Linked DNA regions of Homo sapiens: all the other regions are linked to region 3. The links are contacts of gene promoters, found by promoter capture Hi-C in blood cells and fetal thymus (Javierre and others, 2016). All regions are on one chromosome and are shown on one strand. The core of a region is centred on a gene start or on the middle of the fragment in contact, and the rest is flanking DNA. Distances in the headings are between cores, read along the strand shown. Region 1 overlaps SULF1 (sulfatase 1). Region 2 overlaps MSC-AS1 (MSC antisense RNA 1). Region 3 holds the start of LACTB2 (lactamase beta 2). Region 4 has its middle 13 kb from the start of MSC-AS1.

Region 1 (3,491 bases), core at 685-3,184, 1.0 Mb after region 3:
ATTTCTTCAGATGAAAGGACACATTTTATAGCCCATAATGTCCAAAAGTGAGCAAAGATAGCTCACATCAAATGGACGTATAATGGTGCACATTATCCTTAGAGTAACAGTTCCATAAGAACAGGAAGGAATGGGCAGTTAAAACATTTGCTGTCTAAAATGTGGGGAGACAAAAGCATTGAAGGCTGGCTTACATACCTTCACACTCAACATAAGGGGGCTAAGGGAGTGTCCCCCACTGGACAGATTTCTCTGCTTTGCAGGAGGATAAGAGGAGAGGGGGCAGGAGAGGATGCCGGTGTGATGATGCAAGTCTTCTGCACAGCACTTCAACTTTCTTTTTTATACGTGATGCAGAGATGCAACTGCTGGTGTTGGAAGCAGGGATGTTTCCTAAGCAAAAAACCCTAATTATACTTTAAAACGATGTCAGAATTCCTAAGGGCCTGATAGGGCAGGTTGTGCCTTCACCCCATCTGGCAAAACTGGGGTTAACAGTGAATGCAGGTATACTGCCTGGTGGTTAAAAACAGTTCATTAGTTCTGCACCTATATAAACTTACTCTATTTGAATGGGAGCAGACTGAGCAAGAGGTACTTGCTAGCCTATTATTGGTAGTCTAGTGATAATACTAGACTAGTATTGCTGCCTGAAGCCTAGAGCAGCACAGTGGCTGAATCTAATGTCTCTTCCGAAGGTGGAAAACTTTGGTCATAAATGGAGAGATGGAGGAATAGTAACTGAGGCTGAAGGAATGAATAAGTGGGTTACGTCATGAGTCATGAGAGAAATCCAATATTACATTAACAGCTTGAAAAAGGCTCAGAACAGGAGATGACATTGTCTCTTAGCTCCATTATACCAGACTCCTAAAAGGGTGAGGTCATATATTGCTAAGCCACTCCTGGCAAGATCCAACAGAAGCTGGCAAACCTGAGTGGCCTTGCCCTAGGAGGTATTTTCATATGACAGAATGATGGACTGGACTAATTATTGATGGCTGAATGCAATTCTAGGAATGTGCCAATATCTTTTGACTTTTATAATCTTCTCACTACGGGGTTCATGGCCAGGGGACTAGGGCATAATAAGAAAAATGTATTTGGTCTACCCCCAGTTCACAGAGATCCTAACGCCCTTGCAATCTCCAGGGAGATAAGAGTGTCTTTTATATGCTGAGGAGATGGCTAGGGTACCCTAGACAGCTCTAGGTTGGGAGCTGGGCTGATCATCAGAAAGACCTCCACATGATTAGAGAGTTGGGACTCTCAGACCTCTGTGGAGTGGACAGGGGCCTGGAGATTGAGTTAACTACCAATGGCCAATGATGCAATCAATCATGCTTATGTAATGGAACCTCATTAAAAATCTTAAACGATAACAGGGTTCAGAGAAATTTCCAGCTGGTGAATGCAACCACATGCCGTGAAGGTAGCACACTTCGAACTCAAGGACAGAAGCTTCTGCGTTTGGGACCCATCTGGACCTTAGCCTATGTACCTCTTTGTCTGGCTATTTATTTGCATTTCTTATAATATCCTTTATAATAAACTGGTAAATATTTTAAAAATCGTTGAAATACACAAAATTAAAAACACAAGAGATGTGGCTCATGCCTGTAATCCCAGCACTCTGGGAGGCTGAGATGGGAGGATTGCGTGAGCCCAGGAGTTTAACAGTAGCCTGGGCACCATAGCAAGAACTCACCTCTAATAAAAATTTAAAAATTAGCTGAGTGTGGTGGCACACGCCTGTAATCCCAGCTACTCAGAAGGCTGAGGTGGGAGGATCACTGGAACCCAGGAGGCTGAGGCTGCAGTGAGCCATGATTGCTACTATACTCCAGCCTGGGTGACAGACGGAAACCCCATCTTAAAAAAAAAATAAAAACAAGAGACTACTTTGCAGACCTCAGTGAGAACAAATTTGAAAACCTGGATGAAACGTAGTTGCTCAGGAAAATAGTTTGCCGAAATTGATGCTGTTAAAAGAAAAACCTCAGCTGAATTAAGTTTAACAGAGTTTAATTGAGCAAAGAACGATTTGCAAATCTGGCAGCCTCCCAAGCCAGAGTAGACTGAGAGACTCCAACGCAGCTGCGTGGTGGAAGAAGATGTATGGACAGAAAAAGAAAAGCGACGGACAGAAAACAAAAGTGAAGTACAGAAGCAGCCAGATTGGTTACAGCTCAGTGTTTGCCTTATTTGAACAGAGTTTGAGCAGTTGGCCACCTTTGAAGGGCCAAAACTCAGTGATGGGCACAAGAGTAGGCTACAGTCTGTATACAACTCTATTTAGGTTATAGTTCACGATATACAGAGAAACCTTTAGGCTGAACTTAAAATATGTGAGGAGGCAGATTTAGGCTAAACTTGATTTAACAACCCAATATAGATAGAAAGCTTAAATAGAACAGTTTCCATAGAAGAAAAAGCAAGCCCAAAGAACCACTGTGCAAAGATGCATCAGGTCTGTGGACTTTCACAGGAGAAGTTTAACAAATCTTCAATGAAAAGAGAATACTAATAGACTGTTCTAGAGCAGATAACTCAAGAAAACTTCCAAACTCTTTTCACGAAGCAAGGATAACATTGATAGCTGTGATAGGCAGAATAGTGGACTCCACCCGGCAAAGATGTCCACATCCAAATTCCTGGAAACTATGGACAAGTTCCTTTACCTGGCCAAAGGGACTCTGCAAATGTGACTAAGTCATGGATCCTGAGATTGGGGTGGGGGAGTATCCTGGAGCATCCAGGTGGGGCCAGTGGGATCTCAAGAGTCCTTATAAAGGGAAAGGGAGGTGGTAGGAAGGAGGGGTAGAGAACGAGATGTGACCCCAGAAAACAGAGGAAGGTGGGGGTTGGGGGAGAGACTGATTTGAAGATTGGCTACATTTTTGTATTTGAAGATGGCAGAAGAGACCATGAATGAGGAATGCAGGCAGCCTCTAGAAACTGGAAAAGCAAGGACATTCTTGCCTCGAGCCCCCAGAAGATTTCAGCCCAGTAAGATTCATTTCGAATTTCTGACCCCTAGAAACACAAGAGAATAAATTTGTGTTGTTTTAAAGGCACAGTGGTAATTTATTACAGCAGTAATAAGAAACTAATATATCTAAGAGATAATGCTGGTAAAAACAAAAAGGAAATCACAGATTGGTATCATTTAAAAATATGATACAAAAATCTTAAATAAAATATTAGTGAACAGAATTCAATATTACGAAAGCAACACACAATGACCCAGTGGAATTTATTTCAGGAATGAAAGGATTCATTCTTACCAAATCTATTAATATAATACACAATAATAATTTAATAGATCTAAAGAGAATAATTATCTGAGCATCTTCATAGATGCTAAAAAAAGCTTTTTGACAAATTCAACGTTCATTAAAGATAAAAGCACTAAAAAAAAGAACTGATGGCTATTTCCTTAACATGATAAAAGTATATATAACTCAGTCCTAAAGCTTGCCTCTTATTTA
Region 2 (3,566 bases), core at 165-2,664, 1.3 Mb before region 3:
TTCCAAAGGTACAACTACACACAAGCACTGACCGACCCTGGGACTTGTGAGAGTATATTTTGCTCCTGGGCAGAGAGGAACAGCTCCTAAGCATGTGGAAACTTTCCCCAGTTTCACTCCTGCTTTCCTTCAGCATCAGCTCCCATTCTCTGCCATGCACTCTGCAGCCGGCCCGGATTCTCACGGTACCTTGGGATTTACCCTGCTTTCCTACGATGCCTTAACTTGCACATTTTATTCCATATGCCTGTAATACCCTTTCTTTCATTTTGCAACTGGGGAAAATCTACACATCTTTCAAAGTTCAGATAACTTATCTGAGTCTTCTTTAATCAGAATGAGTCACTTCCTCCTCTGTGCATTTATAACTCCTAATATATCACTTTGCTACACTGTTTTATAATACTAGCTTCACATATTGAATCCCAAACATTGCCAAAAGCTCCCTCTCCACCTGATGCTGCTTCTGTTCTTTATTCTTGCAAATAGCACCTCCACCTGTCTGAGGCAGACATTGAACATCACCCTCTACCTGATTTTTAAGGGGTTATCAAACCTAATTAATTTTACTTTCTAAATATCTCTTACATTTGTATCTCTCTTTTTGCTTCATCACTACCCTAGGTTATTATTTCTTCCTTCTACTGTTGCTTTTGTTTTTTAACTAAGCTATCCACCTCCGGACTCCAATTCCTCCTGCCTTTGGGGAGGCACTATAGCAAGGGTAATTGCACGGACTCTCCTGCCTGATTACCTTGATTTGGATCTCAGTGTTGCTACTTAGTGTGCATGTAGCTTAGTAAAAGAAGACATGCTAGTATTCACCTCTTAGTTTGCTGTGAAAATGAAAAGCAGTAACATATGTAATATGCCCGGAATAATACCAGGCACAGAATAAGGACTTTTTGAAGGTCAGTAATTTTCATTATTCTTCCAGCACCTGTGCTACCTTGAGAATGATTTTCAAGTCTACTTTTTTGCAAATCTGATAGCATCCCTCCCCTGGAAAAATGCTTCTGAGACTTCCTGTGGTCTTTGGAATTTAGTGAGGTTTGTATGACCCTACATGACCTGCTCTGCACCCGCCCCCACCCCGTGCCAGCCTTCTCTCTCCTACTTTCACAACACCCTGTGCTACAGATGAGGAGCCACCAGCTCTTCCCTTGCTGCCTACTCTTCAGCCTCTTTTTCTGGTGAGTTATCCCCCTAGAGGACATTTACCCTCCATCCACTTGACTGATTCTAGTTTATTCTTCAAAATCTGTTCCTAAGTCCAATTCACTATCTGAGGAGCCCAGGAAAACAAACAAACAAAAATAGATTTCAAACATGCTAACAAATATATTTGAATTTAAAATTGTATGTAACATTATTTGTAGGTTATAAGACAGGATGGTTATTGGGGCTTTTTTTTTCCCATTGTTGGCATCATCCTGTCAAAGTTTCCTCTGAACTGACCACCAAATAGCTCTATGACCTATGCTTTCTTTCGGTTTTGAATATTTAGAATAATATCTTTGTTGAATGATATTTCAACAAATTTTTATTTTGTGAAATAAGATTATTTCACCTCAAGATTATTCAACATTCATGAAAATTGTACAAATTCAATCAATTTGGATTAAGTAGGGATTAAAGAAATTTGGGGTTGTGATGGTTTTAATGATTAACATTAATTCAACATATTAACATCCCTTCTCTCCTGCTCCTGAGAACACACAAAAATGAGAGAGATTAAAAAACAAAAAACAAAACAAAACCTCTGTCCTTAAATTGCCAAGGCTGATAAGGAGATGGGCACATTAAGCCACAGCCTGAAGGGAGTGATGAATATTTCAATAGTACACAGCCTGATATGGGAACAGACAGCGGGAAGGCATTAACTCTGCATACAGGTGAAGGTGAAACCCAGGTAGATCAGGGAAGAATAAGCAAGACTTTTTTTGTGTATCAGTTGAAGGAAGTGCTCCAGGACAGCACAGGCATGAGGCATGGAGAGCCATGGACCACAGCACAAGAGGTTGGGAATTGTTGGAGACAAGAATAGACATAGGAGAGTGACAGGAAGTAATTCTGGAGAATGTGTGGAAGCCAGAGAGTGAAGCGTCATGCATGCCATGTTAAAAAATCTAAACATTATCCTGTAGGTGAAAGTATTCCATTGAAAGGTTTAAAAACATGTAACATGGTCATATTTATGTTTTCAAAAGAACAACTTGATGCTGATGGGTTTAGGTGCCAGAAATGTCATCGTCTCAAGGCAAGGAGACCAATCCACAGGTTACTGTAATAGTCCAGGCAGGAAGGGAGTTGGTGAGGCAACCACATAGCAGAATGCGCTTTATAAGTTCAAGTCATTTCACGGAGAGACTCCCCTCTTTGTAGAATGGTGTGTGACCCCATCTATAAGTCTAAAAGAAAGAGTAATATGACTTTTGATGTGTATTTCAAGAATGTCCTATTTATTTCTAGTATGTTCTAAGTATTTCTATAATTAACTATTTCTGTAGCATCATAGTTCTGAAATTAGATTATAATACTTGACATCCTTATTGTTCAGCTCTAATGTTGTATTAAAGTATAGGACTGAGGTTTTTGGATTAGCCACAGATACAGATAGATCCCTGGCACAAATGGACAGTCACAACTTCTAAGATTCTATAATGGAAGAGGAATTCTAGAGAGGCAGCTTCTTTGGCCTTTGTATGTATTAGTAGTAGAAGCAAAGCAGTAGAATGAAAAGTGAAGGACTTTGAGAGGCTTTCTTGCATGGAACAGACCAGGGAGGAGTTACAAATAGTACATTGGAACTTGTGAGTATAAACTTACTAGTAGGTTCTTTGAATTTGTTAAGTCAAATTGGCTCTTAATTGACAGCACTGCCATGTTAAATGGAGACATTTTCAGGTGGAGGCTTGATGGTAGCGGAGTATATATACCCTGCTGGGGCTCAGGTAGACTTATCTGGTTTCTCCAGCGGAATACGTTCGGGATTAAATCTCCTCCTTAGCCCTCTGAAGCGTGTAAACAATGCCCTAAGTGCGCTGAGGTCAGACCACTTCTGCTGAACTAAAAACACTTCTTAAAACTATTCAGCTAAGTAATCCGTCAGTTTTCCTTAATTTTCTCAAACCTGGGCCCTATCTCTTCTTTTTCTATGTGCTCTGCCACTAATCTTGGGTAATATTGCTTAAATAAGCGAGCTTCCTTCCGTGTTTAACTATCTCAGGATAATAGTCCTTTTTAAAAAATTAAGTAGTAGTTTAATTTTGACTTGGACAATGTAACATCTTAGGCTATTTAACCTGTGTATCTCAGTCTATTTACCCTGTATAATGGGTGATATTTTTATTGTCTTCATAGTTAGGTATGAAATATTTGTTATATATGCATTTTAAAACTTTCACAGAAGCCAAATTATTTACACCTAAAAATTAAGAAGGACTCAGTATTTGAAGCCGCATTTAGCTTAGTATATGTAGCTACTGGGCAGCTATAATAAACTTAATATAGGAAGGCAGAACTTGGTCACTGTATGTATTCATTCATTCCCACATTGCTATAAA
Region 3 (3,301 bases), core at 460-2,959:
AGCCTCCTGCCTGAATAGCCATTAATTGATGGCTATCATAAATACATATTGACAGATTGAAATGCCTGATGTAGGAGATTTGGTTACTTTAAGTATTTTTTGAAGGGTATACTGTTTAACTTCCCATTGCAACAGGGGATAACTTATATGATTATTTCAGCGATGATTTTTTGAATATTTTTCCATTAAAAGTACAACTGTGTGAAACAAGGCAAAGACATTTCTCACACACAAAGCAGATGTCATTAGCCACTCTGATACACTATGCTGCTGATTCATAAAATAGGTAAGAGCAGATCGTTTTCTTCATCAGAAATATCTGGAAAAAAAAAAGCCACCAAGCACTGTATGTGTCAATTTCTCACCTTTTTTTAAAAAAAAAAAGAGTGGGCTGCTACAGTGGATATGTTCTACATCTCTTTGGGGCAGTGATTACATACAATTGTCATAACTCGATGGAACTGTCTACAGGATCTGTGTATTTTCTTTTAAGTAATTTATAACTCAACTTTTTTTATGGGAAGCTGTAGTTAACACTGGATAGTTAATACTTGGCTGATAAGAAACCGACTTGTTACAGAGAAAATGAGTCCCTTCCATCTTGGGCACAAAACGGCTCCACAAGACCAGCCTAGCTCTCTGGGCAGGCAGGTAACACTGGCAGGCAGAGGCATGCTCCTTGAATCTCACTGAGGGGGACAAGTGTTAGTGCGAGGCAGGTAGGAGCAAGGCCGCACACGCAGACTCTGTCATCTGGGCAGCTGCCCAATCCCCGTTTTTCATTTGTAACAAAAATAGTGTCCACCTCTTAATAATGTTCTGAGGATTAAGGGCGTTAAGTCGGATGTTTGTTGAAAGCACTTAGGCATAGTAGGAAGTACTAAGTAAATATGTCTTACCACTATTTATTATAAAAGATGAACAGGCTGGCCCGGCGTGGTAGCTCACGCCTGTAATCCCAGCACTTTGGGAGGCCGAGGCGGGCGGATCACGAGGTCAGGAGATCAAGACCTTCCTGGCTAACACAATGAAACCCGGTCTCTACTAAAAATACAAAAAATTAGCCGGGCGTGGTGGCGGACGCCTATAGTCCCAGCTACTCGGGAGGCCGAGGCAGGAGGATGGCGTGAACCCGGGAGGCGGGGCTTGCAGTGAGCCGAGATCGCGCCACTGCACTCCAGCCTGGGCGACAGACCGAGACTTCGTCTCAAAAAAAAAAAAAAAAAAAATGAACAGGCTACTACTACTACTACTACACACACACACACACACACACACACACACACAGAGCCACTGCCTAAAAATCTGGCAATCCTTCCTGACATTTATTACTGAATAACGAACGGTTACCAAACCTGTCTCCCAAATCACAAGACTCTTCCAGATTAAAATGTCTCTCGCCCACTTGGATCCACTCGCCTGTCTAGGACACAAACCCGTGAGGCACCAGCCCCCGTGACAGAGGCAGATTCCAGCTTCGCCTCACGCCACCTCACGCCTCGCGCCAGCCTTCCCACCACTGCCCGCGCAGCCCGCGCGGCGTCACGTGACCTCTAGTTCCGCACCGCCCCCCCCACCCCCCGGCCTAGCTGCCGGATCCCCGCCCCGGCTCGTCCGCGGTGTCACATGACACCTGGACCAGCCGCTGGCCAATCCCCTCCCTCCCGGGTTGCGAGGCATCACGTGGACGCTACTCGCTATCCCCGGCCTGTTGGCTTCTTCCGCGCTGGAGTATCCAGATAGGCGACACGCCGGCGGGCGGCTGAGGCGGGAATGGCTGCTGTACTGCAGCGCGTCGAGCGGCTGTCCAATCGAGTCGTGCGTGTGTTGGGCTGTAACCCGGGTCCCATGACCCTCCAAGGCACCAACACCTACCTAGTGGGGACCGGCCCCAGGTAAACGTCCCTCTCCAACCTCCCCAACGTTCGCAGCCGGCCCCGGAGCCCGGGCTTTGACTGATCGCGGCTGCGCGGGCAGTGGAGAGCGCCGCGTCCTGTCCCTAGCTGGGCAGCCCCGCGCCTAGCAGCCCCGTCGGGACTGCACGCAGACACTCGGATCTCGAAGCTAGCTAAAATACGACCACCCCAGGTGATAGCTCTCTAATTTAGGGAGAAATGGAAAAAAAAAAAAAAAAAAAAAAAAAAACTTCTGTTTTGAAACCCGATTTACTGTTCTTGATGTTTGAATGCCAGGGTGTGCGTGTTTAAACTGTTGAGAAAATTCGGATGTCAAGAGTCCAAGAAAGCGTTTACTTTGCTCACTTGACTTTCACTGGTGTTTTGCCCAGAGTGTAACTTCCCTTCTCAAAAGCGATTAATTATGTTGAGGCGATTTCCTCAACTCAGCAGCAGAGGGCAGGATTCTCCTGGCTTCCAAATTGGTTCTCTGCAGCCTGTGGGCTCATAAGAGGAGCTGACATAAGTAATTTGGGGAAGTTTTTTGTTACAATTGTGTGTGACCTTGTTTGAGTTTAATTTGCAGACACAGTAACACACCTGTATTTCTAAGAAGATACTTTTGCTCTTGTTTAGCTGCATTCTGTTTTAGTGGAATTATGCAGGAATGGGAGATTTGGTTTACTGCATAGTAAGTCTTAGGCATTTAGCAACTTTTGTAGTCTTTACTGGATGAACCCAGATAATGTAGTTTCTCTTGAGCATAGAATTTAATTGTGCAGTCAAGACATAAATTATTTTTAAAATATAATTGATTACTAAAAACGATTTAGTAAGTACAGTTAATTGAGTTTTCCTTGGAAGTGTCTACTGTTTGGCGTTTTTCCAGTAAATAAGAATTTTAGAAGCAGCAGACCTGCAAAGTGGGCAGGTAAAAGATTAAGTTCAGAGTAAATAAGGCAGGGTCAGGTAGTTACCAAAGGTTTAGGCTGCCACCAGAATCTAGGAGGATAGAGAATTAAGCAGGAAAAATGCCAGATCTCTAGGGTACAGTCTGTCTTGGCTGGAAGTCCCTCAACCAAGTAAATCCATAGGCGGTCTCTCTACAGTGTGTCATCTTGAACTAGTCAATACCTCAGACAAAAGATGCATATTATCAGAATTACCCTGGAAAGTCTCTTAGAAGAACACCATGTTGGAGATCAGTGTATTGTCTCAGTAAGTTCAGCACAACCTGCCTTTTTTCCAGCGTTGAAACAGATGGCTGATTCTGTTTGAAAACCAGGTGAAGAAATTGGCTTGTGTTGAGGGGCTATATTGTATGAAAAATACATACTGTATCTTTAAACACTATAATCACACTCAACATAGCAAAGTGCTAGTGCTAAGAGAGACTTAAAGACTAA
Region 4 (3,278 bases), core at 287-2,786, 1.2 Mb before region 3:
CATTGGCCCATACAGATTCTTATCAAATTTGGTCTTACTCTGGGGACTTAGATTCTTTCAGAGGGGGTAAAATCATAACTGAAAGCTTAAAGAGAGAAGGGGTTTGTGCAGCTCAGAGACACAAAGCTTGGAAACAGGGCCCTTGCCTTGATCGCATGTGAGCATGCCTTTTTTCTTTCATTGGATTCTAAATATCTTCAGAGCAGGAATCATCATTTTTCATTTTGTGTCTTATGAAATTACAACCTCCATCTGTCTGGTACAAAGCAGATGATCAATAAATATTTAATAAATTTCTCTTGATAGAAAATAGTTATTGCTACTCTTTAGTTTAAATTCCTTCTCACTTGTAAAACGAGGGTGATTTGATTTGGGAAAGTCCATACCCTGGAACCACCCGAGATATGTAGTCATCACAGACAACTAAGAAAGTATGTCTAATTAGTCACTACCATTTGACACTACTATTTCTGCTGTACATAATCTGATGGTGCTAGGGAGCCCTCAGACAGAAAAAGAAGAGTATTGACTGAGTTCAGTAAAGTACTTTAAAATGTAAAGCTTTAAAATTGGAAGAGGCAAATTCATACTGTAAACACGCTAAGCACCATGCTATACGCTTTACAGATATCAGCCCTTTAATGCCTCTGATCAGGCCCATGAATAGGCCTGTGATAGTCTTGATTTATGGGTGGGAAAACAGGCTCTCAAAGCTTCAATAACCTTCCAAGGGCCACACAGGGAATAACTGGTGGAATCAGAGTTTAAATCTATTTCTCTCTAGCTAAGAATCTGAACCCAAAACCATTCCCTGAGCCTCCCCAAAAGTTGTCTGCTGGGGTGAAAGGAAGCTGGTGGGAAGATGGTGCCCACCGATGAGACTAACTGAACTTTAGGAGTTAACTCGGAACAACGGATGAGCCATAGAGCTATACCTCCTTCCGAGGGCTTGACACGGGACGAAAGCGCAGAAAGGAGTCAAGGCTGTCTGCTTCCTTGGCGGTGCCCACCAATGCAACCCAGGGAGTGGCACTTGTCTATAAACATATTTGTTTCTTTTTGGGTTTGCTTTCCTCTTTATTTTATAATGAAGATGATTTGAAAAACACCCAATTTATATGTGCTGAACTAAAAAGAAAATAGATCTATTCTCACTTAGGATTTTTAGCTCACAAAATTACATACTCCTGGAGAGCCCAGCAGTGGAGGCAGGGAGTGGCCAATCTGAAGATGAACAAAGAACTGCTCCTGGGAGAAACTGAGGTAGGGGAGCCAAGAAATGCCATGACCGAGGAGAAGCCCCAGTCTGCCTAGAAGAGCTGATCATTTTTGTTTGACCTTAATAGATACTTGCTTAAGTGAGTTATAGGAACAAACAATTTCCCACCAACAACAAGTGATCCACTTTTTTCCATCTTCACCAAAGACAGAAAAAGAGAAAACATGTGTGAATTGAAACATATAAGAAGTACAGTAGATTTAATGAAATTGCCAGAGAGAGGTTTTCTAACCGTCTAGGATTTGTGATGTAGAATTTGCGCAGTTAGGGAAGAATCTGTGGTACAGATTTCGTAGAATCATAAAGCCACAAAACTTTAGAGCTAGAAGGTATCTCATAAGTAATCTACTTTGGTTTATCATGGCATTCTAAAGATAATAAAAAACAAAGACTATATGGTTACTGTAATTACCTAACCGGGACTGTTGTGCAACAATGTAAAATTATGGCCCCAAATTATGCAATACCTAGGAAAATTTTATGAAATAAACAGGATAAGAAACTATAATTATAGCAATGACAATAAAAATCAAAATAATCTAATCATTTTAAAGATAAGGAAAATGAAACTGGATTTTTGGAAACTGGCTTCTCATCTGTCTTGGATTAGAGAAAGATGCTGCTTGAAAGTTTGGCTTTTTAAAAAAAAATCCCCTTGTCATTTAAGGTCATTTCTGGTCTGTCTTTTACTGGCTGACTTCTCTTTGTCTTCCTCCCCTAAACCCTTCCCACTCCCTCTGCCTTAACCTGCAGAATTAATTCTACCTCATCTATATTTGTGCAATACTTTACACACATCTTCATTTTTAAAGAAAAGTTATTAAAAGTACTATATGCCCCAAAATGCAAGAATGGTGTGGCATAAGAAAATCAGTCAATGTAATACACATTATAGAATGAAGGGGAAAACTCACACAATCATCTTCATCGACATAGAAAAGCATTTAACAAAATCCCACACTCTTTCACGATAAAAAACAAAACAAAACAAAACAGAAAACCAGGAGAAGGCAACTTCCCCAGCACCATAAGACGCCTTTATGCTAACATCAAACCCAATATGAAAGACTGAAAGCTTTCCCCCATAAGGTCAGGAACAAGACAAGGATGCCTGTTTTCACCATGACTATTCAACACTGCACTGGAAGTTCTCACCATAAAAAGGAAGGAAACACTGACACGTGCTACAACATGGATGAACCTTGAAAATATTATGCTAAGTGAAAGCAGGTAGACACACAAGGTCACACATTGTATGATTCCATTTATATAAAATATTCAGAATAGATCAATCCTTTGGGACAAAAACAGATTAGTTGTTGCCAGTTCAAGGAGGGAACATAGAAACTGTTTAATAGCTAAGGGGTTTTAGTTTGGAATGGTGACAATATTTTGAAACTTATAGAAATGGTGATTTCGTGACATTGGGAATATGCTAAATGCCAGTAAATTGTCTACTTTAAAATGGCAATTTTTTTTTAGCATTCCACAGTGTGATCCTTTACTACAGCAAGGTGGCTGATTATCAAAAACTGAGAAAAGCAAGAGTGAATACGTTAAAAAGGTTTGTTGCAGATACAAGAAGGTAAGCGGAGGCAAAGATAACTCAGTGCTAGAGGTCTGGATGTGGCTCCTCAAGGAGCTCCCTGCAGCCCGGCTCCTCCAGGATGGCGCTCTGCACACAACCCGGGCAGCATCTGCTTCCCCGGGAAAAGTTACCCATTGACATCAGCTGTGTTTAAGAGCTAATTTTTATGTTAGGTGAATTTCATGATGTAACCAAGTTCAAAAAAATGAGTCCTTTGAAACCCAAATTCAAGGGCGGTAAATATATGTCAATGGGTATTTCCCCACTATATTAAGTACTTACACGCTCATTGTTTCTGCTGTTTGGGGACCTCTCTGCAGCTCCAGCACTTTCCACAGGATTCAATAGGAAAAATAATTGAGCGCCACGCAGCCGGTCCCAGTAATAAAAAGACGTCATTAGCGCGCCATC

The links. Contacts are between HindIII fragments. The CHiCAGO score rates a contact against its expected background, and 5 or more counts as called.
Region 1: a contact is called between a fragment that was not itself captured here and the fragment with the promoter of LACTB2 in region 3, in 1 of 17 cell types (naive B cells). The highest score is 5.3, in naive B cells.
Region 2: a fragment that was not itself captured here is called in contact with the fragment with the promoter of LACTB2 in region 3 in 1 of 17 cell types (M2 macrophages); the score reaches 6.4 in M2 macrophages.
Region 4: a contact is called between a fragment that was not itself captured here and the fragment with the promoter of LACTB2 in region 3, in 3 of 17 cell types (M1 macrophages, M2 macrophages and M0 macrophages). The highest score is 5.4, in M1 macrophages.

What each region holds. Positions count from the first base shown.
Region 1 is chr8:69,651,474-69,654,964 of GRCh38, reverse strand. All of the region lies in intron 22 of SULF1 (sulfatase 1), which reads right to left. Among named protein-coding and RNA genes, the nearest start is that of SULF1, 160 kb to the right of the region's middle. The HindIII fragment of the contact is 942 bases long and covers 1,464-2,405 here.
Region 2 is chr8:71,965,587-71,969,152 of GRCh38, reverse strand. All of the region lies in intron 4 of MSC-AS1 (MSC antisense RNA 1), which reads right to left. Among named protein-coding and RNA genes, the nearest start is that of TRPA1, 110 kb to the left of the region's middle. The HindIII fragment of the contact is 5,269 bases long and covers 1-3,566 here.
Region 3 is chr8:70,667,593-70,670,893 of GRCh38, reverse strand. It overlaps LACTB2 (lactamase beta 2), which reads left to right and starts at 1,709. Exons shown (of 7, transcript NM_016027.3): 1 at 1,709-1,895. The coding sequence starts at 1,774. XKR9 (XK related 9) reads right to left here and starts at 1,555. Exons shown (of 5, transcript NM_001011720.2): 1 at 1,356-1,555. The HindIII fragment of the contact is 8,354 bases long and covers 1-3,301 here.
Region 4 is chr8:71,828,087-71,831,364 of GRCh38, reverse strand. No RefSeq gene overlaps it. Among named protein-coding and RNA genes, the nearest start is that of MSC-AS1, 13 kb to the left of the region's middle. RefSeq lists enhancers at 1-48, 1-824. The HindIII fragment of the contact is 1,641 bases long and covers 716-2,356 here.